Regions from separate parts of the Homo sapiens genome. Here regions 1, 2, 3, 4, 6 and 7 are each linked to region 5. Evidence: promoter capture Hi-C in 16 types of primary human blood cells and fetal thymus (Javierre and others, 2016). All regions are on one chromosome and are shown on one strand. Each heading gives the region's core, a stretch centred on a gene start or on the middle of the fragment in contact. The rest is flanking DNA. Distances are from core to core; before and after follow the strand shown. Region 1 holds the start of CHMP3 (charged multivesicular body protein 3). Region 2 has its middle 7.5 kb from the start of GNLY. Region 3 overlaps RNF103-CHMP3 (RNF103-CHMP3 readthrough). Region 4 overlaps RNF103-CHMP3 (RNF103-CHMP3 readthrough). Region 5 holds the start of IMMT (inner membrane mitochondrial protein). Region 6 has its middle 50 kb from the start of MIR6071. Region 7 has its middle 10 kb from the start of ATOH8.

Region 1 (3,713 bases), core at 456-2,955, 370 kb before region 5:
GAAAAATTAAAAACACAGTGGGCGTGGTGGCTGACACCCAGCTACTCAGGAGGCTAAGGTGGGAGGATCACTTGAATCTGGGAGGTAGAGGCTGCAGTGAGGCAAGATCCTGCCACTGCACTCCAGCCTGGGTGACAAAGTGATACCCGGTCTCAAAAACAAATACATAAATAAAAATAAAAGTATATTTTCCAAAGGAAAAGGTTTCAGAAGATTCACACTATATTTAATAGTTGGTGTGAATCCTTTGAGACCTTTTCCCCTGAGGAAGTGAGAATGAGGGTTTAACTTTTCACAATGAACAGGCAGTGCTTTTTTAAAAACAACTTTATTGAAGTATGATTGGACATAAAATAAATCGCACATACTTAGTGTCCAACCTGGTAAGTTTTGATATTGTATACATCTGTGAAACCATCATCACAATCAAGATATTATCCATCATCCCCCTAAACTTCGTGTCTCTTTGTAATCCCTCTTTTCTGCCTCTTTCTGACCCCACTCCTATCCGCTAGCAACCGCCCATGTACTCTCTGTCACTATGTATTAGTTTGCATTTTCCAGAATGTTATGTAAATGGAATCATACGGTTCTGGCTTCTTTCACTTGGCAGAATTATTTTGAGATTCATCCATGCTGTTGCATTTATCAATAGTTTACTTTTTTATTGCTCAGTACTATTCCTTCGTATGGATCAATCACGACTGGTTTATCCATTCACTTGTTGATAGACATTTGGATTGTTTCCAGTTTATGGCTATTACAAATAGAGCTGCTATGAACATTTGTGTACAAGTCTTTGTAAGAACATATGCTTTTTTCCCTCTTGGGTAAATAGCTAGGAATGGAAGGCTGGCTTTGTTTAGCATTTTAAGAAATTGTCAAAATGTTTTCAAAGCTGCCGAACCATTTTATGATTCCACCAGAGACAGGAGTATGGGGCTGAGGTAACAAATGGTCCCCTTCACCATCCTCGGATGAGTTAATGACAGTAACCATCAGCTCACCGTATAGGCCTAATCAGGAACTGTCCGTGCTAAAATGTGTCTAGTTCTCTTTAGTCAGATTCCTTTGAGAGTGTGATTAAGCTCACGGTCAGTGTGGCGTGTAGGACGGGACACACATGGACAAATGCTAGGCAGGAATCGCCCACGCTGGAAAGGGCGATGGCCTGAAAAAAAACGACCGCAGTTGGGATGGAAAGGGGAGGGTTGAAGTTCAGACATATTGAAGTTAGAATGGTTGGGACTTGGTAAGAGGGGAGAGAGGACGATGCCTAGGGTTTAGTGACCAGGTGATGGTGGTGCAAGCAGAGGGGAGGAGTGGGTTGGCGGGAGGAAAAAGAGGTTATTTTTGGTTTGTCACCTGTGAGTTGCCTACTGGACACAAAGATGAAGCTGTCGGGAAAGTGATGCTAAGTGTACACGTCTGCGTGGAGATCCAGACTTCTGGTGCAACATCTAGGTTTAGGTGAAGTATTAGAAGCAGTTGTAGCCAACAAATTCGTATCTTTCAGAGCAATCATTTCTACACCTTACGAAAAGCACCGAATCCGTGGTCTCCCCCACACAGACATGACCAGAACATGTGCGATGACGTCAGCCTTTTTGACTAGTCTCCCACTCACTCGATTCTGCGCAGGCGTATGGCGCATGCGCAACATCCCCTAGTGCCGCCGCTCCCTACTCTGGGGGTTGGGACTACCTCCTTTTCCGCGGGCCCCGCCCAGGCGGCTGCCCGTGACCTGCCTGGGCGCGGGGAACTGAAAGCCGGAAGGGGCAAGACGGGTTCAGTTCGTCATGGGGCTGTTTGGAAAGACCCAGGAGAAGCCGCCCAAAGAACTGGTAAGGGCTACGGCGGCGGCAGATAAGCGGGTGGATCTGTGTGGGGCGTAGTGAAGTTGGTAAATGACAGGACACTCTTCTCCCCACCGCCTGCCCGATACCGCCCGGCCCCCATTTCCGGGGACTCCCACTCGACAGGGGGGCCGGAGGAAGAGTCTTTAGGAGTCGGCTGTGGGACGCGAGAGCTCCTGGTGCCATGGCTCTCGAACAGGTAGCCGAGGGTGGATGAAGAGTTTCTCCACCTCGCCACTGAGCGCGTAGGCAGCGACACCGTCCTGGCCTCGGAAACCTCTTCCCCCTGCGCGCGTTGGTACGACCCGCCCGGAACCTTTTCCCAGCGTAGGCCCCACCCCTCCAGCCCGGCTGCGGACCACCCGGAGAACCTTCTCCTGCCCGAAGCGTTGTTTGGAGCGGGCCGGGTCGCGTCTGCCGGAGGAGCCGTCTGTTCTCCGTCCTCCCTGTTGTGTTGAAAAAGAGGCTCAGTTTCCTCTTTCCCCAGCCCTTGTGTTGACCCTAGGCACATACCGTAGCGGGGCAGGGACTCGACCCAGAAGAATGTTACAGAAGATAGCTCTGGACCCGGCTTCGAACTCTCGTTACCTATTAATTGAGATAATATTGGGAGGCAAACAGTTGAAAATGCCCTGCAGTCAGTCAACCTAAGTTTGAATCCTGCCTTCCCACATCTCAGCTCTGTGATCTCTGGAAAGTTCACTTCTCAGTGCCTTCTCGACTGTGAAGCCAGAATAATAGTAGTGTCACCTCAGAGTAATTGAAGATTCAGGGATGTAAAGTTTTCATATTGGTAGTTAGGGCTAATTCTTTAAATACGGCACAGCTTTGCTACTCAAATGCCAACCAGCAGCATCAACATCACCTGGGAGCTTGTTAAATCTCGGACACCACTCCAGACCCACTGAGTCAGATTTTGAATTCTGACAAGCTCCCTAATGATTAGTGTGCACATCAGTGCTTTGAGAAGCACTGCTCTGCAACACCTAGGCTTGTCCATAATGGAAAAAAAAAATCCTGAAATCCTTTAATAAATGATCTTACCTGTTCAGCTCTAGCAGGCACATTTTAAAAACTAATCTTATGCATCTTGCAATTCCTGGCACATAATGTGCGTTAATGTAAATTTGTTGTTGTTGTTGTTAAAGGCCCTAGAACAGTAGACACTCATTATTTTCGTCAGGAAACTTACTCAGTTTTGCTCCTTGGTAAAATAAAAATTGTGGCGCTTAAATGAAATAACGGTATAACATCACTTTGGAAACTATAGAACATTATATAGATGCACATTTTGTGACATCTGTATATTCTAAGATTCTTGTTATTGTAGAAGTGTGGTAGGGAGAGATTATTTGTTGTCTTCAGTGTTTGGCCTTGGCATTGCCATTCGTAAATTGAGATAAGATTATGGAGAAGCAAAAAAGATGCTGGGGAAATGGTTGCTTTATTGTTTAAACTAGTCTCTAGTATATGTACTACTATACTACTCTAGTATATTGTACACTTAGATTGTTTTTAAATGATAAATTGCTAAGAACACGATATTGGTACACTCTTCAGTAGGGTAATCTACCTGAGAAAGCTGATTGACACTGGAAAATGGCAGGGTTGATGCATGAGATTGGTTTTTAAAACTATGCTTGCCAGAGCCGAACAGGTAAGATCATTTATTGAATAAAAAATTTTAGTTGTTTTTCCCCCCATTATGGACAAGTCTGGGTATTGTAGAGCAGTGCTTCTCAAGCATTAGTGTGCACACTAATCATTAGGGATCTTGTCAGAATTCAAAATCTGATTCAGTAGGTCTTGGATAGGGTCTGAGATTTCTAATAAGCTCCCAGGTGATGTTGATGCTGC
Region 2 (3,538 bases), core at 176-2,675, 490 kb after region 5:
GGAAGGAAGAAAGGAAGGAAGGAAGGAAGGAAGGAAGGTGGGAGGGAGGGAGGGAGGGAGGGAAGGAAGGAAAGAAAGAAAGAAAAGGAAGGAAGGAAGGAAAGGAAGAAGGAAGGGGAGAAAGAAAGAGAGAGAGACAGAAAGAAAAGCTGAAAGCCAAATACAGGGAGAAAATCTTGACAGCAGCAAAAGAAAAACAATTCATCACTTACAAGGGAACCCCCAATTATTAACAGGTGCCTCCTCATCAGAAACAGTGGAGTGCAGATGAGTCCAGATAGCAGTGGGGAAACACACCTCCAGGATAGACTATGTGGTAGCCCATAAAACAAACGTCAATAAATTAAAAAGGATAGAAAGAATACAAAATATGTTCCCTGACCACAACAGAATAAAACTAATAATCAGTAACAGAAACAAATTTGGGGAACTCACAAATATGTGAAAATTAAACAACACACTCCTAAATAACCAATGGATTAAAGGAAAAATCAAGAGGGAAATTAGAAAATACCTTGAGGTGAAAGAAAATGAAACCACAGCACACCAAAACTTACGGGTTGTAGCTTAAGCTGTGCCAAAAGGGAAATTTGTAGCTGTAAATGCCTATAATGAAAAAGAGGAAGATTTGAAATCTTCGTCTCAGAAATCCCATTTTAAGACAATGGAAAAAGGCTGGGTGCAGTGGCTCACATCTGTAGTCTCAGCACTTTGAGAGGCCAACGCAGGAAGATCATTTGATGCCAGGAGTTCAAACCCAGCCTGGGCAACATAGCGAGATCTATCTCTAAAAAAAAGAAAAGTAAATTAGCTGAGCATGGTGGCCTGTGCCTGTAGTCCTAGCTACTTGGGAGTCTGAGGCAGGAAGATTGCTTGAGCCCAGGAGTTCAAGGTTACAATGGAAAAAAAAAAAAGACATGAGAAAGAAGAGCAAATTAAACCTAAAGCAAGCAGAAAAAAAGAGATACTTAAAAAATTAGAGTGGAAATGTGGAAATTATTAAAATGGAGACTAGAAACAATATTTGAGAATACGAGATGAAATCAAAAGTTGGTTCTTTGAAAAAGCAAGTCTTTAGTTAGATTGACCACAATAAAAAGAGAGATGCTGCAAATTACTAGAATCAGAAATGAAGGAGGGGAAATTACAACTGACCTTACAGAGAGAAAAAGGATTATACTATTATGCTAATTAATTATGCTAATGCATTAGACAACTTAGAATGAAATGGGCACATTCCTACAAAGACACAAATGACTGAAACTGATGCAAGAGTAACAGAAAATCTGAATAGACCTATAATAAATAGGTTGAATTAGTCATCAAAACAATGACTCACAAAGAAAATACCAAGCCAGATGTCTTCATTGGTGAATTCTACCAAATATTTAAAGAATTAATACCAATTCTTCAGAAACTCTTCCAAAAACTAGAAGAGGATGCCCTGATGCCAAAACCAGGTGAAACCAGATGAAAACATCAAAAGAAAAAAAAAAACTACAGACCAATATCTCTTTTGAATATGGATACAAAAATTTTCAAAAAAAATTCTAGCAGGCTGAATCCTGCAACACATAAAAACAATTATATACCATGACCAGGTAAGATTTATCCAGAAATGCAAGGCAAATCAGCAACCAAAAGTCAAGTAATAAAATTCATCATATCAGTAAAATTAAAAATGAAAAACACATGATCCTCTCAATAGCACAGAACTATCATTTGACAAAATTTAACATCTCTTCATGATAATAGTCTCAACAGCAGGGGAATCACTTGGACCCAGGAACCTGGGAGGTAGAGGTTGCAGCAGCCACTGCACTCCAGCCTGGGGGACTGAGCGAGACTCCGTCTCAATAAAAAGGTGTTTCCACTTATGGCAGAAGAGAAAGGGAGCAAGTGTGTGCAGAGATCACATAGTGAGAAAAAAGAGAGAGAGGAGGTTTAACAAGCAGCTCTCACAGAAACTAATAGAGCAAGAACTCACTCATTACCACAAGAATGGCACCAAGCCATTCATGAGGGATCCTCCTCCCTGACTCATACACCTCCCACTAGGTCCCACCTCCAATATTGGGGATCACATGTCTTTTTTTTTTTTTTTTTGAGATGGAGTTTCGTCCTCATTGCCCAGGCTGGAGCGCAATGGCGCAATCTCGGCCTCCCAGGTTCAAGTGATTCTCCTGCCTCAGCCTCCCGAGTAGCTGGGATTACAGGCATGTGCCGCCACGCCTGGCTAACTTTGTATTTTTAGTAGCGATGGGGTTTCTGCATGTTGGTAAGGCTGGTCTTGAACTCCCAACCTCAGGTGATCCACCCACCTAGGACTCCCAAAATGCTGGGATTACAGGCATGAGCCACTGTGCCCGGCCAGGGATCACATTTCAACATGAAGTTTGAAAGTTGCATTCTTGCAACTTGCCATGGAGTTTGGAGATTACACCTTCCAAACCTCCCAGTGTAAACAGGAGCCCCTATTTACCCTTAAACAGGATTCTCCACTGTTAACACCTTACCACATTGCATGTATGTGGTATATACCTTATCACACTCATTCTTTGCGTATGTATTCCCTTTTTTTCTGAATCATTTCAGAAATTGTAATTGCAGATATGATGACCTATTACTCTTTGAATACCTTAGTGTATATTTTCTAACAAGGACACTGCCGTACATAACCATAGTACAACCATCAAAATCAGGAATTAACATTAACAGAATATTACCATCACAGATTCCAGTCACATTTTATAAATTGCCCCAATTATGTTCTTTATAGGTCTGGATCCAAATCAGGATCATGTGTCGCAATTTGTTGTCATGTCTCTTTAGTTTCCTTCTATCTGGAACAGTTCTTCAATCTTTACTTGTCTTTCAAGACCTTGGCATTTTTGAAGAGGACAGGCTAGAGTGCAGTGGCTCCCGCCTGTAATCCCAGCACTTTGAGAGGCCAAGGCAGGCAGATTACTTGAGGTCAGGAGTTTGAGACCAGCCTGGCCAACATGGTGAAACCCCTTCTCTAATAAAAAATACAAAATTAGCCAGCTGTGGTGATACATACCTGTAATCCCAAGCTACTTCAGAGGCTGAGGCAGGAGAATCACTTGAACCCAGGAGGCGGAGATTGCAGTGAGCCCAGATCGTGCCACTGCACTCCAGCCTGGGTGACAGAGCCAGACTCAGTCTAAAATAAAAAATTTTTAAAAAATTTTTAAAAAAAGGATATGCTAAGTATTTTGTAAAATGTCAGTTTGAGTTGCTCTGATGTTTCCTCATGATTTTTGCATTTCGGCAGGAACAATGGAAAAGTAGTATTATATTTCTCTCAGAGCATTATATTATGAGGCCCATGATATTGACTTGCCCCATGGGAGGTGGGAGTAACTTTCATCAGCTGACAGGCTTCTCCACTGTCAGGTTAACTAATAATGGAATGTATTAATTAATATCAAATTAGTGAGCCAGGCGCAGTTCTGCACACCTGTAGTCCCAGCTACTCTGGAGGCCTAGGTGGAAGTATCCCTTGAGGCCAGGAGTT
Region 3 (3,231 bases), core at 541-3,040, 420 kb before region 5:
TCTAACCTCCAAGTCATACAAACCCTGTTGCTCTTTTAAGCAGGGCTGATGGCAAATTCTGTGAACCCAATTCTACATCTTTTAAGTAAGAAGCATATAAGCCATACTGTTTAAAAATGTATATGAAGCCTGTATGTGTCATTCATAAAACTAAATAATTAAGAAAGTTGTGCCTTTTTGGAGTGGTACAAATTTGGTAAGTTCCTAATAATTATGTGATAACCCCACTAAAATATAAGCCCTGTTCTATAAGAGATGGATTTTTGTCTATTTTGTTCACTTTTCCCTGATGCATAGGAAGTTCTTACTACATATTTATTGAATGTATGACTCCTAAGTGGGTATATCCAGGTTCTTCTAGTAGTTCTTGTCTATAAAATACAATGAAAGTACAATATCATGATTCTTAACAGTGTAAAAAATAGAATTACTGAAATTGGGAATCTAGGATTCTTGCAACCTTATTAGTGTTATTCTTTTCCTTTCTTCAGGTGACTTGATGGAGGGTGAGCTCTATTCTGCTCTCAAGGAAGAAGAAGCATCCGAATCGGTTTCTAGTACCAATTTCAGTGGTGAAATGCACTTCTATGAGCTTGTGGAAGACACAAAAGATGGCATCTGGCTGGTTCAGGTATGAAAAGCAGTAATAATTTGATAATTCGAGAGCCCTAAAAAAATTATTTTTACCAAAATAGTATGTACCAGCCAGTGACACTTCCGTGTCCTTGTGTCTTGTTTCTCACACATAACTCAGTTCTCTTAGGGAGGCTCCAGTATCTTCTTAAAAAGGTTTTGGAGACTGAGGAAGATGAAAATTGAGTAGTGGGAAAGAGAAAGATGGGGGATGGGGGTCAACTTTTTGTTTAGAATCCCCAGAAGCAAATCTATTTTAGTTATTGGACCTTTGTTGAATTGAGAAATACACATATATATCCCTTTTATTTAGTGATTTGCACTGTTTCTCTTAGTTTTTATTATCTCCAGTTTTTAATTCAGTGGCCTGAGTAATTTTTATATATAAGTAAGAACCCTAAAGTAAAAGTAAAGGAATCATTGTATTAGGGAAATAGCCAACTTTGTGACTATAGAGGAGCTGTTGTGGAAAATGGTGGGGGTGCTCATTACGTAACTCAGGATGATGAGATTATAATTTTTAACCCTTGTTTTTATGATAGCAAAACTGTGAGACTTAATTAGCATATTAGAATTTTAGAGCTATGATGGACCTTAAAAATATTTTATGCTTTCCAAGATGTAATTTATGGTGAGTGGGCATGCATTATCATTTACATATTTTAATGTAAATTAGAAAAATTATATTAACATAAATTTCATAAATTTTGCTTAGGACAGGACTAAAGTTATTTACATTTTAAAACTGTACATTCAAAGTGACATATCAAGTAAATTAACAGCGTGAATGTGGCTAAAATTATTAATGTAGTCTGTGAATGGCTGAAGCTTGGAAATTATATCAGACTAACCCTTTCTGAGACTCTGAGAGGTGAAGTAGCTTGCCCAAGGTCATGGAACTAGTTGGTAGTATTGAACCAGGATGAAACCCAGGTCTTCTGATTTCTTGACTGGTACTCTTATCATTTCACACTGGAGTGGGCAAAGTTTGATTCAGGGCATGAAAATTAAAACAGTTTCTTCATATTTCTTTCTGAGAGTAAAGACTGCAAAATATGGTAGGAAAAGCTATGAGTTCAGAGACATTAGTTGCAGGTCTGGTACTGTCGCTGTTACAGGTCTGGTACTGTCACTGACTAGCAGTATGATTGTAAATAGGTATATTTTTCTGTTGCACGTGGCCTCAAATAAATACATATACATCTAAAAAGGATAAAATGGTACTGTAGTCCACTGTGCTAAAGGGTTGAGGTTTGGGAATTCTTCCAGAGATTTACATTGTTCATCCATGGCCTTTCTTTATTGTATCCTTCCTATTGCATTTGTCCTTTTACCTTCCGGATAATCTAATTCAGTAATTTTTAAGTTCAGCAATGGGAGAGAATGTGAGAGTATGAGTGTAGTCTATACATTATCTATTTAAATTTTAGTTTATTTCTGTGTCAGTTGGAGTTGAAAAATAAGGTGGAGCTTTTTTAAAGCTTTAATGTATAAGTATATTGTTATTCTGTTTCTTTTCTCTGGTACTTATTTCTAATAGTCTGATTGAGAAAGACACTGGTTTTGATAATTTTAGATTTTATTACTGAGGATGAATTGAATAGCCAGTCCCACTGCCCTGCTTTCAGTGTCTAAATGTCACCCACATTGAATGATCCCATGGAAATAAATGGTGAAGATGTTGCACACCTTTGAAACTTGGAAGGGCTATGTCAAAAGTCTTGAGTTCTTTTGCTATATAGGCTGCTGCCTATAGACAACAAATACATTCTGGTTCAATAGTTAGCAGTATGTTCTTGGCTTGTAAATGATCTACTGTTTTTGATGTCCTGTTAAAGATATCCATGAATTAAGCTCCTGTAATAAATATGTGACAGAATTCATCAAAAGTTTATTCAGTTGTGGGTGTGCCAGGCCCTGTTCTGGGCCCTGAAGATATACCAGAAACACACACCAAGCTAAGGCCTTGCTCTGTCAGGCAGCTCACATTCTAGTTGGGAGAGGCAGACACCAAATAAATAAATATTTAATATAACATCAGTTAGTGGAAAGTAGTAAGAAGAAAAATAAGCAGATTAAGGAGATGAGAGTGGCAAGGAATTCTCTGGTAAGGTGACAAATGAAGTGAAGGACAAATAATGATAGTAAATGGTAGCATTATAAATTCTAGTTGCTAAATTTTTTTTCTCTGAAAATATTTTTAAACCTTATAGGTATTAATAGTTGAAAAACAACTCTTTAAAAATAGAATGTATTTCTGTGGTTTTTCTATGTATGGAAATAATGCAGTAGGACACCTGCTTAATTTTTCCAGTGATGCTCAAGGTTTGCATTGACCACCACTGTCTGGCTTGTGTTCCTTGAGGCCAGTGGCTTACATCTGTCAAATGGCTGGCCTGGTCTGAAAGAACAATCTCTGGCAGGACAACTGAGAAGAATGAGATTGAAACCCTGTCCTTGGCACTGTGAACTAGCCAGCTAAGCCAATCAGCACAGCCACCTTGGTTTAAGCCCTTAAAAGAGGGTTGTACTTTTTAAAACTATGCTTAAAATTGAAAATATCTACTAGAAACAGAAGAGAAATATTGTCTCCATTGC
Region 4 (3,247 bases), core at 34-2,533, 330 kb before region 5:
GGTGCCAAATGGGTTTCTAATGCATTATTTGGTTGTATTTCGTTCTGAAGGTATTTTCTTCACATTCAATTTTAACATTCGAATGTGGTTTTAAAATATGCCTAACCATGAATGTATCATTAGTTTCTTTCTCGAGATACTGAAGAGAATAATCATGGGCTGGGAAAGAGTAAAAAAAAAATGACAAAATGTTTGTACCACATCATCCTTTAAAAAATCTATCAAGATTATCTTTTATTTATTTATTTTTGTTTTTTTGAGATAGAGTCTTTCTCTGTCACCCAGGCTGGAGTGCAGTGGTGTGATCTCGGCTAAATGCAATCTGCGCCTCCCAGGCTCAAGCGATTCGCCCGCCTCACCCTCCCAAGTAGCTGGGATTACAGGTGCCCACCACTACTCCCAGCTAATTTTTGTATTTTTAGTAGAGACGGGGTTTCGCCATGTTACCCAGGCTGGTCTCAAACTCCTGACCTCAGGTGATCTACCTTCCTCGGCTCTGCAAAGTGCTGGGATTACAGGCATGAGCCACCACTTCCGGCCTATCTTCACTTTTAAATGCCATGTTATTACAGCCCTAAAATGATGATTTTAGGCTCTTGAAATACTGGATATATCACCTAGATATGCCTTTTGATCAAACTGAGTATCAGTGCCATAAAGAAATAGTTTAATCCTGTCATGTTGAAAGCTCAAGTATTATTGTCTTTTATAGCCAGCTTGAAAAATTCAGATTGATTCTCAATTTTTCCTGCAACATGCTCAAAAGACACATGTTCAGTTGACCATGATAAGCTTGTTTAAACATTTTTCACTCTTTCCTTATTGCTTATTTTGCCTTTTTCCCTCTATGAATAAAGCAGTGTATGCACAGCCTCTTTTTTTTCCAATTGTAGAGATGAAAGCAGAGGATAATGTAATAAGTCTTTATGTACCTATTATACAGAACTAATAAAATTTATCTTTTTTTTTTTTGGTAGAGACGGGGTTTTACCATGTTGCCCAGGATGGTCTTGAACTGCTGAGCTCAAGTGATCCACTGCCTCAGTCTTCCAAAGTGCTGGGATTATAGTTGTGAGCCGCTGCACCTGGCCCAGAACTAATACAATTTAACGTTTTGTTGTATTTGCCTGCTTCTATATTATATATATATAAAAAAAGCATTATTACAAAAGTTGAAGCTCCTTTAATACACCTTCCCAGTTTCATTCTCTTCTCTCCCAACCTCTCCAGAGAAAGCCACTATCATGAATCTTAAAATTTTTATGAATGGTATCATACTATAGATACCATTCTGCGTCTTTTTGCTCCATTTATCATCGTTTTTGAAATATGTTCATGTGGATAAATGTAGGCAGGGTGCAGTGGCTCATACCTGTAATGCCAGCCCTTTGGGAGGCTGTGGCAGGAGGATCACTTGAGCCAGGAGTTCAAAACCAGCCTGGGAAACATAATGAAACCCTGTCTCTATAAAACAAGACAAAACAAAACAACAGCAACCACAATAAAATTATCTATGTGTATGTGTATATATATATAGAGAGAGAGAGAGAGAGAGAGCATGCTCTAGTCCATTGATTTGAACTACTAGATGAAATTACATTGATGTATCACATTTTATTTTTCTGTTCCCCTTTTGATGGATATTAAGGTTATTTTCAGTTTTTGCTGTGTGTAAAGGTTTAGGACAGTTGTATACTCAGAAGTAGAATTGCTAAGTAAGTAGCTGGGTTTAAATTTTGCTAGAATTACAAAATTGCTCTCCAAAGAAGCTTTACTAATTTATATTTCCAGCAGCAGTTCATGAGTTCTTTTTTTCCATACCTTTTCACCTTTTTGACTTGGTATTGTCAGACTTTTTTATTTTTGAGAAATGTTATCTTGTGTTAATAGTTCTCTCAGAGCTACTAAACTCGAGCATTCTCTTTTCTTTGCCCTTTCTTCCTGTGTCCTGATTCCAAAATACCTTTTCAGCCAGTTATCGTCATAGTAAGTAATCATTAGTCTGCATGCAAAAACTCTTTTATCATACACTTTCAGCAGTATACATAACAAAAGCTTCCCTGTGCACTGCACATAAGAGCCTATCGTTTAAATGTACACCCATAACAATATGTTAAGTTGTTCATTTCATATATACTGTAGCTTTACCAGAATTGAAAAGTAAAGTATTTGCTCTTTGGCCTCTGAATGTTAAGGTGCTCGAGGGCTCTATTCTAGATCCTCTGCTCCTTTCCATCTTTACTCCCAGTAGTCGATCTTATCTAACCCCATGCCTTTAAATGCCATTGAGTTTTATCTTCAGGGCTGACTTTATCTCTAAGTGCGTAATTGGCATCTCCACTCAGATGTCTCAAGGGGTATCTCAAAATTGATATAAAAAAATCTTGATTTTCCTTCTCCCACCACTTTGTCTTCTTCCAGTCTTTCTACTATGAGAATTTTTTTTTATTTTAATTTTTGGCATCATTAAAAAATTAAACATATGTATACTCTGGGTTACCTTATAATTGATGAGTTTCATGAGACTTGAATCCCCCATTTGCATTTTTGTTTATGAGGTTTGGTGTCAAATTTCACTGTGGCAATCCAGTGTGAAAAGAGCAAAACCCAACTTACTGTGTAAATGTCCTTGCCGAGGGAATCCCATCTGATGCAAGGATTTTAAGTAGTTTTTTTTTTTTTTTTTGAGACAAGATCTCGCACTGTCGCCCAGGCTGGAGTGCAGTGGTGCCATCTCGGCTCACTGCAACCTCAGTAGTCTTAATGGAGAAAAGCGGGAAAGGAGTCACCAGACAGATAGATGAGAACAGTATATATATGCATAGTTATCAAGTATTTTACCTGTAGCGTAACCCACATTATAAGTGGTGTTTTAGTTCAGCAAAGTATCACATGAAATTTACGTTGTTAATGTGAATTTTATTGATTTTGAAGTTTTTTGTATTTAATTTTGTTTTTGAAATAGTTTTATAATTGTACAATTATAGGCATTGGGAATTTTTACCCAATTAGTAAAATACACATAATTAAAGCCAACAACAGAAAGTTATTGGTAACAGGGGAACTGCTAACATTTTATTTTTCTTCAGTGGAGGACTGAATCAGTAAATTATGATTTATTTAGGTTTCAGCATAGTATTCAGCTACAGAAAGATGTTAATGATGCATCATTTAATAAGAAAGCAAGTTGCAGAACAGTATATATAGCATGATAGCACTCTGTAAATAAGTAGAGGATGTGTTTGTG
Region 5 (3,762 bases), core at 519-3,018:
TCAGGCGCAAGTTGTGGCTGTGACGTACATGACTGAAGCAGGATGAAAACATTCACTGGCATTGACAAATTCAAAGCCAAGGGTGTTAGAAAAGTCATCACACGGGCACCACATGACTGAAGCAGGATGAAAGCGTTCACTGGCATTAAGAAGTTCAAAGACAAGGGTGTTAGAAAAGTCATCACACCGGCACCACTGGGCATGACAGCAGTGGGCAGGGAGGCAGCAATTCAATTGCTAAAATTACTAAAGAAAACGGGAGACTGCTCTGGAAGCTAAGTGAAAGAGATATGAAACATATGTAATTACTGTAGTCCCCTAAAAACCATAGAACATAGAACATATACAAACATAACTATTGCTTTCAGATAATTTTCAAGTCCATCTCTCCATGCTACAAGTCATAGCGCAGTCTACCTCTAGAGAGAATACATATTGTAATAAATTACCCAGTTAAGACTTGGAATACTTTGCAAATCCAATAGAAGATAGAAAAGTTAGTTTCCACGATATTGCAATAAGATGCTAATAGTATTAATACGAACATATTAATTCTGGAGTATACATGGAGTATTAATACCATGCTTAATATTTAACGTGTTTTATTTTGATTACAGAATCAATGGAATACTTTTGTTTTTTGAGACAGAGTTTCGCTCTTGTTGCCCAGGCTGGAGTGCAATGGCGTGATCTCGGCTCACTGCAACCTCCGCCTCCCGGGCTCAAGCAATTCTCCTGCCTCAGCCTCCCGAGTAGCTGGGATTACAGGCACCCGCCACCATGCCCAGCTAATTTTTTGTATTTTTAGTAAAGACGGGGTTTCACTATTTTGGCCAGGCTGGTCTCGAATTCCTGACCTCAGGCGATCCACCCGCCTTGGCCTCCCAAAGTGCTGGGATTACAGGCGTGAGTCATAGCTCCTGGCCCTACTTTTCTTTTTAAATTTTTTGTTTGTTTATTTTTCTATATAGAGACGAGGTCTCACTGTGTTGCCCAGCCTGGTATCGAACCTCTGGGCTCAAGCGATCCTCCCGCTTCGGCCTCCCGAAGTACTGGGATTACAAGCGTGAGCCACCGCGCCCTGCCCAGTGGAATACTTTCAACGGTGCTTCTGCATTGACTTCCCATCTTCCAACCCATCCACAAACTGCAGCCAAAATGATGTTACTACAGTAACAACTTGGAGAAAGCAGTGTGGCTTAATCTGGAAGGAGCAGAAGCTGTGGAGTCCAAAGGACCCGTGTTCCTATCCTTGTTGTGCCACTTGACACGTTTAGCACAAGGGTCCCCACAGTGTTAGTTCACCGTCTCCAGCAATCACTATGACTCCCTGGAGGGCTGTCAAACGAAACAAAGGCGCAAACTGAGACAATTCCATTGTTTACGTAACTTTCGCCAAATCGGCTCCTTCCTACGAAATATCCAGCTCATAGAGCAGGCTGAGATGCTTTGTTGCTTTAATTCTCTTTAAGAGTCACAGCTGTCCATTTTCCACGTGCGGCTGAAGAATGGATTTCAGAGCGCTCTCCCTCCGGCAGTGTTCACCTAGTAACCCCTTCCGGATAAGGACCTGCAGCCCGGGCGCGACCCGGAAAGGGAATCCGCCCTTTTCGCCTCCTTCGCGCCAATCGCCTGGAGTTGGCGTTTCCGCAGCCGGGACACAGCCCACCCTCTAAGAGCCGCGGAGTCGGGGACGGTAGAAGGGGCCGCGCGTGCGCAGTGGCGTCCGCTGTGCTTCCGGTGCGCCGGGCGCGGACGCGGGCACGCACACACGCAAGCACGCCTCCACTTAACTCGCGCCGCCGCGGCAGCTCGAGTCCACCAGCAGCGCCGTCCGCTTGACCGAGATGCTGCGGGCCTGTCAGTTATCGGGTGTGACCGCCGCCGCCCAGGTGAGCACTGGGGCTCCCGGAGGCGCGTGAGGAGGCTGAACTAGAACCGTCAGCGAAAAACGGGGGAGCCTTGGTCGCTGCCTAGCCTCCAGGACAAAGGCGAGCCTCAGGGCCACCCTCGTCGGGAGAGGCCCGGGCGGGCAGCTAGGCAGCCACCAGGGAGTTCGCCGGACTGGGATGACTTGAGGTTATTGCAGCAGCGGGGTGGGGTGTGGAGAGTAGCGGGAGGCGCGGCTTCGTGGGCATGTAGTCCAATCAGGGCCGCGCTGCCCCCGTCCAGGACCAATCCTGGCTGCTGGCGTCTGGGTCGCCGGTTGGGCGCGCGATAGGTTTTCAGTGCTGAAGGTCGACGGGCGAGAACTACAGTTCCCGTCAGGACGAGCGGAGCGGCGGCTTGTTGCATCCTTAATAAGGAGGTGCCTGGACTTCTAGCGAGAGTCCACATTTTAGGGGTCAAGGTTGTAATTATCTGGGAGGGAGTGCCTTTCTTTTCGCAGCTGAGAACACTTCTGAGTTATTCTTAATCCAAACAAAAGCGAAAGATTTTCATTTGTGGAGCTGAAACTCCTGGTCTTCAAGGAAAGACAGGAGTCATGACCTTGTGGCTCATTTCTGAGATTAGGGCAGGGATCTGTGTCTCCAGGCGCTGGGACTACTTTGACATTCAAGGAGCCTAAATACCCAGTTACTTCTAGTTTTGCGTAATTGCCAAAGTTACTTTCTAAAATTGAAAATTAAAAAGCCTGTTTCCACTGCTCATGATTTTCAGGAAGTTGATATTTTGGCAAAATGTAGATAGCAAACCAAGTACTGTGACTCAAGCAGTAATTGAACAGAATCCCTAGGAATAGTGAGTTAGAGATCATAAAAGTCAAGCTTTGTTTTTTCAAGTTCGCTTCTCTTCCTATTTGCTGCTAGGTAACAGAAGCAGCCCCTTCCATAGGAAAGTGGAACGAACCTGTGTTAGTTTTCTATTGCTGCGTAACAAATACCACAAATTTAGCAGCTTAAAACAACACCCATGAATGACCTTACGGGTTCTGTAGGATAGAAGTCTGGGCACGGATGATCTGTGTTCTCCGCTCCAGGTCACATAAGGCTGCAAAGTATTAGCCATGCTGTGGTTCTCATTTGGAGATCAGGGTCCTCTTCCAGGCTCATGCAGTTTGTTGGCAGAATTCAGTCCCTTGCAGTTACAGGACTGAAGTACTTCTTTTCTTGCTGCCTCTTGCCAGCCACTGCTCCCAGCTTCTACAGCCTGCCTACAGTTCCTTGCCTCAAGGCCTCTAGAGGCCATTCATAACATTGATGTTTGCTTTCGTGCAGGCTACCAGGAGCTTGCCTCTCTGACTTCCAAATTTCTTTTACTTTGGTCTTTCCTCTCTAGACCCAGATTTAAAAGGCTTATGTGATTAGACCAGGCCCACCTGGATGACCTCCTTTTCAGTTAATTCAGAGTCAACTTTTTGGGATCCCATTTGGGAATTAAGAAAACTAATTAAAACTTGGTAATAAAAAATGAACCCTTTTATAGCTCTGAATCAAGATGTCTAAGCTTCTTGAAATTGCTGTCTTGTAAAATTCTTTGGTTTATTCTCACCATCTCCTTAATTCTGTAGCATTTGACATTGCTGCTTTATGAGGCTCTTTGTACTTTTGGCTTCTCTCAAGTAATATTTTGGGTCCCATCTCTCTTGTTTTCCTTTACTGAGTCTGCTTCTGCTTTGTACCTCGAAATATACACCTTCTCATCTCTTCCTGTCTCTTTATAGACTCTCTAATTTGAGATTACATCAACTCTCAGAACTTTAATCCCCAAGCAGGTGACTCTCTAGCCTCGTCGTATTTGATTGTATCAACGTATCCAGAA
Region 6 (3,396 bases), core at 110-2,609, 360 kb after region 5:
GTCTGGTTCCGGATTTTAAAGAAAAGGGTTTCAGTTTTTCCCTATCAGTATTATATTAGCTAGGAGTTTTTCATAGCTAATGACCTTTATTATTTTGAAGTATGTTTCTTCTATACCTAGTTTGTTGAAGGTTTTTTTCTTATAAAGGCATGTTTAATTTATTGAATGCTTTTTCAGCATCTATTGAAATAATCATATCGTTCTTGTTCTTGGTTCTCTTAATGCGATATATTGTGTTTATTGATTTGTATGTTGAACCATCCTTGCATCCCTAGGATGAATCCTATTTGATCATGATGAATTATCTTTTTAATGTGTTGTTGAATTCCATTTGCTAGTATTTTTTTGAGGATTTTTGCATCTATGTTCATCAGTGATATTGGCCTATAGTTCTCTTTTTTGGTTGTGTCTTTGTCTGGTTTGGTATCAGGGTAATGCAAGCCTTATAGAATGAGTTTGGAAATATTCCCTTCTCTTCAATTTTTATGAAGCATTTGAATGGAATTGGTCATCATTCTTCTTTAAATGTTTGGTAGAATTCAGCAATAATGCAATCAGGTCCTAGACTTTTCTTTGATGGGAGACATTTTATTATGGCTTCAATCTCATGACTCATTAGTGGTTTGTTGAAATTTTCTATTTCTTCATGGTTTCAATCTTGGTAGGTTGTATGTGTCCAGGAATTTGCCCATTTGTTCTAGGTTTTCCAACTTGTTGGCATGTAGTTGTTCATAACAGCTTCTAATGATTTTTTGTATGTCTGTGGCATCAGTTGTTATGTCTCCTGTTTCATTTACAATTTTATTTATTTGAGTCTTCTCTCTTAGTTAATCTAGCTAAAGGTTTGTCAATTTAGTTTTTGCCAAAAAAAAAAAACCTTTTCATTTCATTGATTTTCTTTATTTTTTAGTCTCCATTTATTGCTGCTCTGAATTTTATATCTTTTCTTCTAATTTTGAGTTTAGTTTGTTCTTTTCTAGTTTTTTGAGGTACATCATTAGGTTGTTTATTTGAAGTCTTTCTACTTTTTTGTTACAGGCATTTATTGCTATAAAATTCCCTCTTAGTACTATTTTTGTTGTATTCTACACATTTTGATATGTCATTTTCCATTTTCATTTGTTTCCAGAAATTTTTAAAATTTTCTTAATTTCCTTATTGGCCCTAGGTCATTCAGGAGTGTGTTAATTTCCATGTGTTTGTGTATTTCCCAAGGCCCCCCTTGTTATTTCTAGTTTTATTCCATTGTGATCAGAAAATATACTTGATATGATTTCTACTTTTTTGCATTTGTTGAGACTTGTTTTGTGGCCTAATATACAGTCTGTTTTGGAGAATGTTCCATGTGCTGATGAAGAAAATGTGTATTCTGCAGCAGTTGGGTAAAATGTTCTGTAAGTGTCAGGCCTAATTTGATCTGGTGTGTAGTTTAACTCCAGTGTTTCTTGATTTTCTGTCTGGATGACCTGTCCATCACATATAGTAGCATGTTGAAGTCCCCTACTATTATTGTATTGCAGTCTATCTCTCCCTTTAGATTTGTTAATGTTCGCATTATATACTTGAGAGCTCTGTTGTTCAGTACATAGATATTGATACATATTTCCTCCTGCTGAATTATTCCCTTTATCATTAGTGATCTTCTTTGTCTCTTTTTACAGTCTTTGATCTGTAGTCTGTTTTATCTGATGTAAGTACTTACTTATATCAGCTACTTACTCCTGCTCTTTTTTGGTTTCCAATTACATAGAATATCTTTTTCCATCCCTTCACGTTAGAAGTGAAATGATCTTCTTGTAGGCAGCATATAGTCAGGTCTTATTTCTTTATCCATTTAGCCATTCTATGTCTTTTAATTGGAGAACTGAGTCCATTTACATTCAGTGTTTTTGTTGATAGGTAAGGACTTACTACTGCCATTTTGTTGCTTGTTTTCTGGTTGTTTTGTAACTCCTCTCTTCCTTTCTTACTGTCTTCCTTTGTGGTAAGTGATTTTCTCTGATAGTATGTTTTAACGCATTGCTTTTTATTTTTAGTGAATCTATTATAGATTTTTGCATTGTGGTTACCATCAGGCTTACCAAAAAAATCTTACAGATACAACAAGTTATTTTAAAGAGATGGCAGCATAGATCACACAGAAAATAGAAACAAAGAAAAATGTAAAAACAAAAAACTGAAAAAACCTCTACACTTTAACTTCATCCTCCCCACATTTTGGCTTTATATTATCTCAATTTATATATCTTTATATTCCCTATCTCCCTTTTTTTTTTTAATTTTTTTTTTTGAGACAGAGTCTTGCTCTGTCACCCAGGCCAGAGTGCAGTGGTGCAATCTTGGCTCACTGCAAGCTCCAACTCCTGGGTTCTCACCATTCTTCTGGCTCAGCCTCCTAAGTAGCTGGGACTACAGGTGCCTGCCACCACGCCCAGCTAATTTTTGGGATTTTTAGTAGAGATGGGGTTTCACCATGTTAGCCAGGATGGTCTCGATCTCCTGATCTCGTAATCTGCCCACCTCGGCCTCCCAAAGTGCTGCGATTACAGGCGTGAGCCACCACACCTGGCCGATATTCCCTATCTCTTAATAGGTTGCTATAACTATTATTGTTTTTGATAGATTTGTATTTGGGGCTTTATACTAGATAGATAGATTTGTATACCATAGTTATGATGTGGATTATATACCACAATTACAGTATTAAAGTAATACTGGGTTTATCCATGTATTTAATTTTACCAGTGGGTTTTAAACCTTCAAATATTTTCTTTTTGCACATTAGTGAGTTTTTTCTTCTTTTCCTTTTTTTAGTTTCTTTTCTTTTACTTTTCTAGTATCTTGAAAACTATCATAGCTCACTGCAGGCTCGAATGCTTGGGCTCAAGCAATCCTCCTCCCTCAGCCTCCCAAGTAGCTGGGACTACAGGCACTGCTGTGCCCAGCAAATTATTTTGTGTAGAGACAGAGTCTCACCATGCTGTGCAGGCTGGCCTCAAACTCCTGGGCTCAAGCAATCCTCCCACCACAGCCTCCTGTGTAGCTAGGACTACAGGTGTGCACCACCACACCCAGCTAATTTTTAGTTTTTTGTAGAAATGGGGGTATCACTATGTTGCTCAGGCAGGTCTTGAACTCCTGGACTCAAGCAATCCTCCTGCTTCAGCCTCCCAAAGTGTTGGGGTTACAGGTGTCAGCCACCATGCCCAGCCTGTTAAAGATTTCTAAAACCATGGATCACTTCGTTTTGGCTACATTCTAACCCTATCACTTTGGGACCTGGGAGGCAGAGGTTGCAGTGAGGGGAGATCCCTCCACTGCACTCTAGCCTGGGTGACACAGTGAGACTCTGTCTCAAAAAAAAACAAGAACAGTAGTCAAATGAAAAAGTAGTTT
Region 7 (3,219 bases), core at 561-3,060, 450 kb after region 5:
GAACAGAGCTGACGCAATGCACATTTATTAGCAGTGAGGAAAATTAATAAGGCACCAGCTCGAGGGCAGCCCCACAGACCTGGATGCCCCAGGGACAGCTGTAGACCTGGTGGTCCCCAGGCTGAGTCCTCAAGATGCCTAATCAGTTGCAATTCTAGATCAGCACAGCTGGAGGGAGGCTTGGAGATCATCTAGTCCAGAGGACAAATGCTTTTTATCACGCATGCCAAATCTAATTGATTGGTAGAGGCTGCCTGAAGCTCTGTGTTGAAAAGGATCCTGAGGCTGCATCTGGGTCCCTTTGGGAATGAGTGCTATAATTGATTAGCAATGTCTGCCATGGATGAAAGAAAAGGAGTGGCAGGATTCACACCATGTGTTTGCCACTCCTGGTCTAGTTCGATCCTGCCTTTTTTTTTTTTTTTTTTTTTTTTTGATGAGAGAGACTGAGTCCTGACGCCCGTTGTTGGTAGGGTTTTTCCCAGCCTTCTCAGGAATCTGACTACTGTTGGTCAGTGGCAGGTAGCCTGAATGTCTCTGAGGACTGAAGATGTCAGATCCAAAGACTGTCTCCAAAAAGCCAGAACAACTGCTGATTTTAGTTAATGCTATAAACTGCCTGTTTCCTGGAAATAATCGGTAAAATTAGTTGTCTCGTGGAATCGACTGGTCAGTTCAACCAATGTAGGTGATGTATCAGGCCCAGGTAAGCCCCAAGCCAGTGTCTACCTAACGTTAGTGCTCAGTTTGGCCAAAAAGAGTTCATGGGGGAGGCTAACCAACTATCTGAGCTCAAGACAATAGAACTCCCAAGTGGTCAACAAAGTTGTTCTAATCAGATGGATCACTGGCCGTCTGATTACTACCAGACAAGCTTGAGTCAAGGTGTTCTAGCCACCCTGGCCAGGACTCTACCTCCCTCACCATCATCTCCTCCTGCCCTTCCAGCCTGGCTTCTTTCCTTTCCCCTTTTGAGCCCGTGACAGATCCTGCTTCCTCTGCCAGAGAATCCTTCTGCAGTGGGCTGAACACCTCGAGAAAGTCTTCCTGACTGACCCTTCCAACACCTGCAGATAGTTCCACTGCCTTAGAGCCTCTCCTTCCATCTGTGACAGCTCAAAAACCATTCAGGCCACTCCTCATTTTAAAACTGAGGAAACTGAGGCTCAAGAATGGACATGGCTCACTTGATATCACACAGGAGGTAGACTGTTGACTTTAACCAATTGCCCCCCACTCAGTTGGCTCAGGTCTCCTGATTCCAACTCCAGGGTTGTGGTGGCTGCCTGGGGAAAATCCATTCTGTCTGGTTCACTGAGTTTCGTGCGTGACTCAGAACAACACAGATAACTTCTGAGGACTCCTGGAAGTGGGCGGACCTTCACTTTGGGGTGGCAAAGAACTTGACATGTGATGGGGGTGTGTGGGGGAGTGTGAGGGTGGCGTGGGTCATTGGTAAGGGGGGTAGGCTGCAGGAGAGGGCTGACCTGATATGAACCCTGGGGGGACTGCCAAGGGGCCCAGCCACTACCTCCTGGGAACAAGGAAACAAGGTAGTTTATCTCTCTGGCTTCGGAGCGTTTGTCACACTGCCCCCTGGAAGTCTACCCTGGCATCTTAGGTCCCCAACATTCCCCATCTTGAATTCAACAATCCTCTTTTGAGTGGGGCAGGGAAAACAAGCCCTTCCACAAGGAACTCGGCTAAGTGAAAAGTGGCCCTCAGCGGTGGTGGACAGAGCCCAGGCTTTGGACAAGGATGGTCCCGAATTGACCCTTGGCTCACCACCTACAAGCTGGGAGTTTGGCTGAGTTCCTTGATCTCACCGGGCCTCAGTTTCCTTGTTTGCAAAGCTAGGATAGAAAGATTACTGGCCCTCATAGGGTTGTTGTGAGGATTAAAGGGAGATTATCAATGTAAAGGGCTGAGCACAGGGCTTGGCAGATGGCAGCTAATAACTGCACCTTGAACGTCTCTCCTCTCCTCTCAGTGCAGTACCATACATGCTTCAGGGCTCTGATCCTACCACACCTCCTTCAGGAAGCCTTCCCTGGACACACTCAGCCCAGAGGAACACACTCCGCTCTTGGGAACTTCCAGGCTCACCTGCCAGTGTTCTATACTGAAAGCCTTGTTTCTCCAAAGAACCCACAGATCACTGGGGGCTGATGTGGTTTGCAGCCCTCCTTGCTCCTGCAGGCTCCCAGCTCAGAGCTGAACACACAGCACATGCTGAATAACATGGCTGCTCAAGCTCCTGGCACCCTCTCCCCGCCCCAGCCCACCTTATTCCCCCAGATCCCCTGATTTTCCAACCCCCTGTCTCATTTGTTCCTAATGCTTCTGTCTCCATGTCTCCAGAGCTCTGTTTGCATGAGGGAAAAAACTCTACATACACACACACACACACACACACACACACACACACACACACACACAGCCCAGAAAGCATCCAGTTGCTCCCGGGCTGGCTGCCAGCGATTGAGTGACCTGCAGCTTCCTCCCCAAATCACATTCCACTGGCACGGATCTTGCCCCGCCTGACGCCAGCCTCCGAACTCGCCCCCAGAGCAAACATTTCCAGTTGGCAGCTCGGCCTTGTTTTTCTGAGGCCCTGATTCGGGCTCCCTTGTAGAAAACAGAAAACAAAATGCATTGGACCAAAAATGAAATGAAATAAATTTTAAAAGGATGGAGGGCTGGGGGAAGGCATTTGCTCCAAGTCACATGGAAAAATAGAAGCTTCAGGGTGTACAAATAGCGTTTAAGAAGCAAACACACATGCTCACCATCCCCCCATCCTGCTGGCTTTGAGGCTGTGATCAATTCATTCAGGCTGCTGCCTCCCGCTAAAAGACTTACTCTGTTCTCATTCACAGCTGCGAGGGGAGGACCCGGGAGAAGGGTGGTGGGAGACCACAGATCTGAAAGGGGAGGGTGATCGGGGTTACAGGACTGTTGTTTGTTCCAAAGGGGAAATTAGAGGAAGAAAAATAAACATGGCCAGCCACATTTTAACCCCAGTGCGCGAGGAGTCCGGGGATGGACAGGGTATGTGTGTGCGTGTGCTGGCGTGTGCACATGCCTGTGGGCGCCGCCGTGTTTGCCTTCTCAAAATAAGAGCTGCTCAGTGGAAAGATGTCATAACCCAGGCTCAGGCGGCAGGGGGACGGGCCAGCCAGGGGGGGCAAGGCTGGCGCCCAGGCCTGCCCATGGGGT

The links. Contacts are between HindIII fragments. The CHiCAGO score rates a contact against its expected background, and 5 or more counts as called.
Region 1: the fragment with the promoter of CHMP3 here is called in contact with the fragment with the promoter of IMMT in region 5 in 17 of 17 cell types (total CD4 T cells, non-activated CD4 T cells, erythroblasts and 14 more); the score reaches 20.2 in total CD4 T cells.
Region 2: a fragment that was not itself captured here is called in contact with the fragment with the promoter of IMMT in region 5 in 1 of 17 cell types (M2 macrophages); the score reaches 5.2 in M2 macrophages.
Region 3: a fragment that was not itself captured here is called in contact with the fragment with the promoter of IMMT in region 5 in 1 of 17 cell types (naive CD4 T cells); the score reaches 5.1 in naive CD4 T cells.
Region 4: a fragment that was not itself captured here is called in contact with the fragment with the promoter of IMMT in region 5 in 1 of 17 cell types (naive CD4 T cells); the score reaches 5.3 in naive CD4 T cells.
Region 6: a fragment that was not itself captured here is called in contact with the fragment with the promoter of IMMT in region 5 in 1 of 17 cell types (fetal thymus); the score reaches 5.0 in fetal thymus.
Region 7: a fragment that was not itself captured here is called in contact with the fragment with the promoter of IMMT in region 5 in 1 of 17 cell types (fetal thymus); the score reaches 5.4 in fetal thymus.

Annotation. Positions count from the first base shown.
Region 1 is chr2:86,561,435-86,565,147 of GRCh38, reverse strand. It overlaps CHMP3 (charged multivesicular body protein 3), which reads left to right and starts at 1,705. Exons shown (of 6, transcript NM_016079.4): 1 at 1,705-1,844. The coding sequence starts at 1,800. All of the region lies in intron 3 of RNF103-CHMP3 (RNF103-CHMP3 readthrough), which reads left to right. It overlaps CHMP3-AS1 (CHMP3 and RNF103 antisense RNA 1), which reads right to left and starts at 3,078. Exons shown (of 6, transcript NR_183901.1): 1 at 2,901-3,078; 2 at 2,228-2,302; 3 at 1,749-1,880; 4 at 1,366-1,460; 5 at 1,008-1,171. RefSeq lists enhancers at 1,330-1,389, 1,548-1,842, 2,000-2,099, 2,110-2,279. The HindIII fragment of the contact is 23,374 bases long and covers 1-3,713 here.
Region 2 is chr2:85,700,120-85,703,657 of GRCh38, reverse strand. No RefSeq gene overlaps it. Among named protein-coding and RNA genes, the nearest start is that of GNLY, 7.5 kb to the right of the region's middle. The HindIII fragment of the contact is 5,566 bases long and covers 1-3,538 here.
Region 3 is chr2:86,617,730-86,620,960 of GRCh38, reverse strand. RNF103-CHMP3 (RNF103-CHMP3 readthrough) reads left to right here. Exons shown (of 8, transcript NM_001198954.1): 3 at 492-631. The coding sequence starts at 500. RNF103 (ring finger protein 103) reads left to right here. Exons shown (of 4, transcript NM_005667.4): 2 at 492-631. Among named protein-coding and RNA genes, the nearest start is that of RNF103, 4.5 kb to the left of the region's middle. The HindIII fragment of the contact is 653 bases long and covers 1,464-2,116 here.
Region 4 is chr2:86,524,972-86,528,218 of GRCh38, reverse strand. All of the region lies in intron 5 of RNF103-CHMP3 (RNF103-CHMP3 readthrough), which reads left to right. The region is part of intron 3 of CHMP3 (charged multivesicular body protein 3); the gene reads left to right. Among named protein-coding and RNA genes, the nearest start is that of CHMP3-AS1, 35 kb to the left of the region's middle. The HindIII fragment of the contact is 977 bases long and covers 795-1,771 here.
Region 5 is chr2:86,193,468-86,197,229 of GRCh38, reverse strand. IMMT (inner membrane mitochondrial protein) reads left to right here and starts at 1,768. Exons shown (of 15, transcript NM_006839.3): 1 at 1,768-1,892. The coding sequence starts at 1,848. RefSeq lists enhancers at 1,778-1,897, 1,918-2,097, 2,218-2,267. The HindIII fragment of the contact is 5,542 bases long and covers 1-2,770 here.
Region 6 is chr2:85,831,914-85,835,309 of GRCh38, reverse strand. No RefSeq gene overlaps it. Among named protein-coding and RNA genes, the nearest start is that of MIR6071, 50 kb to the right of the region's middle. The HindIII fragment of the contact is 8,623 bases long and covers 1-3,396 here.
Region 7 is chr2:85,741,941-85,745,159 of GRCh38, reverse strand. No RefSeq gene overlaps it. Among named protein-coding and RNA genes, the nearest start is that of ATOH8, 10 kb to the left of the region's middle. The HindIII fragment of the contact is 1,868 bases long and covers 877-2,744 here.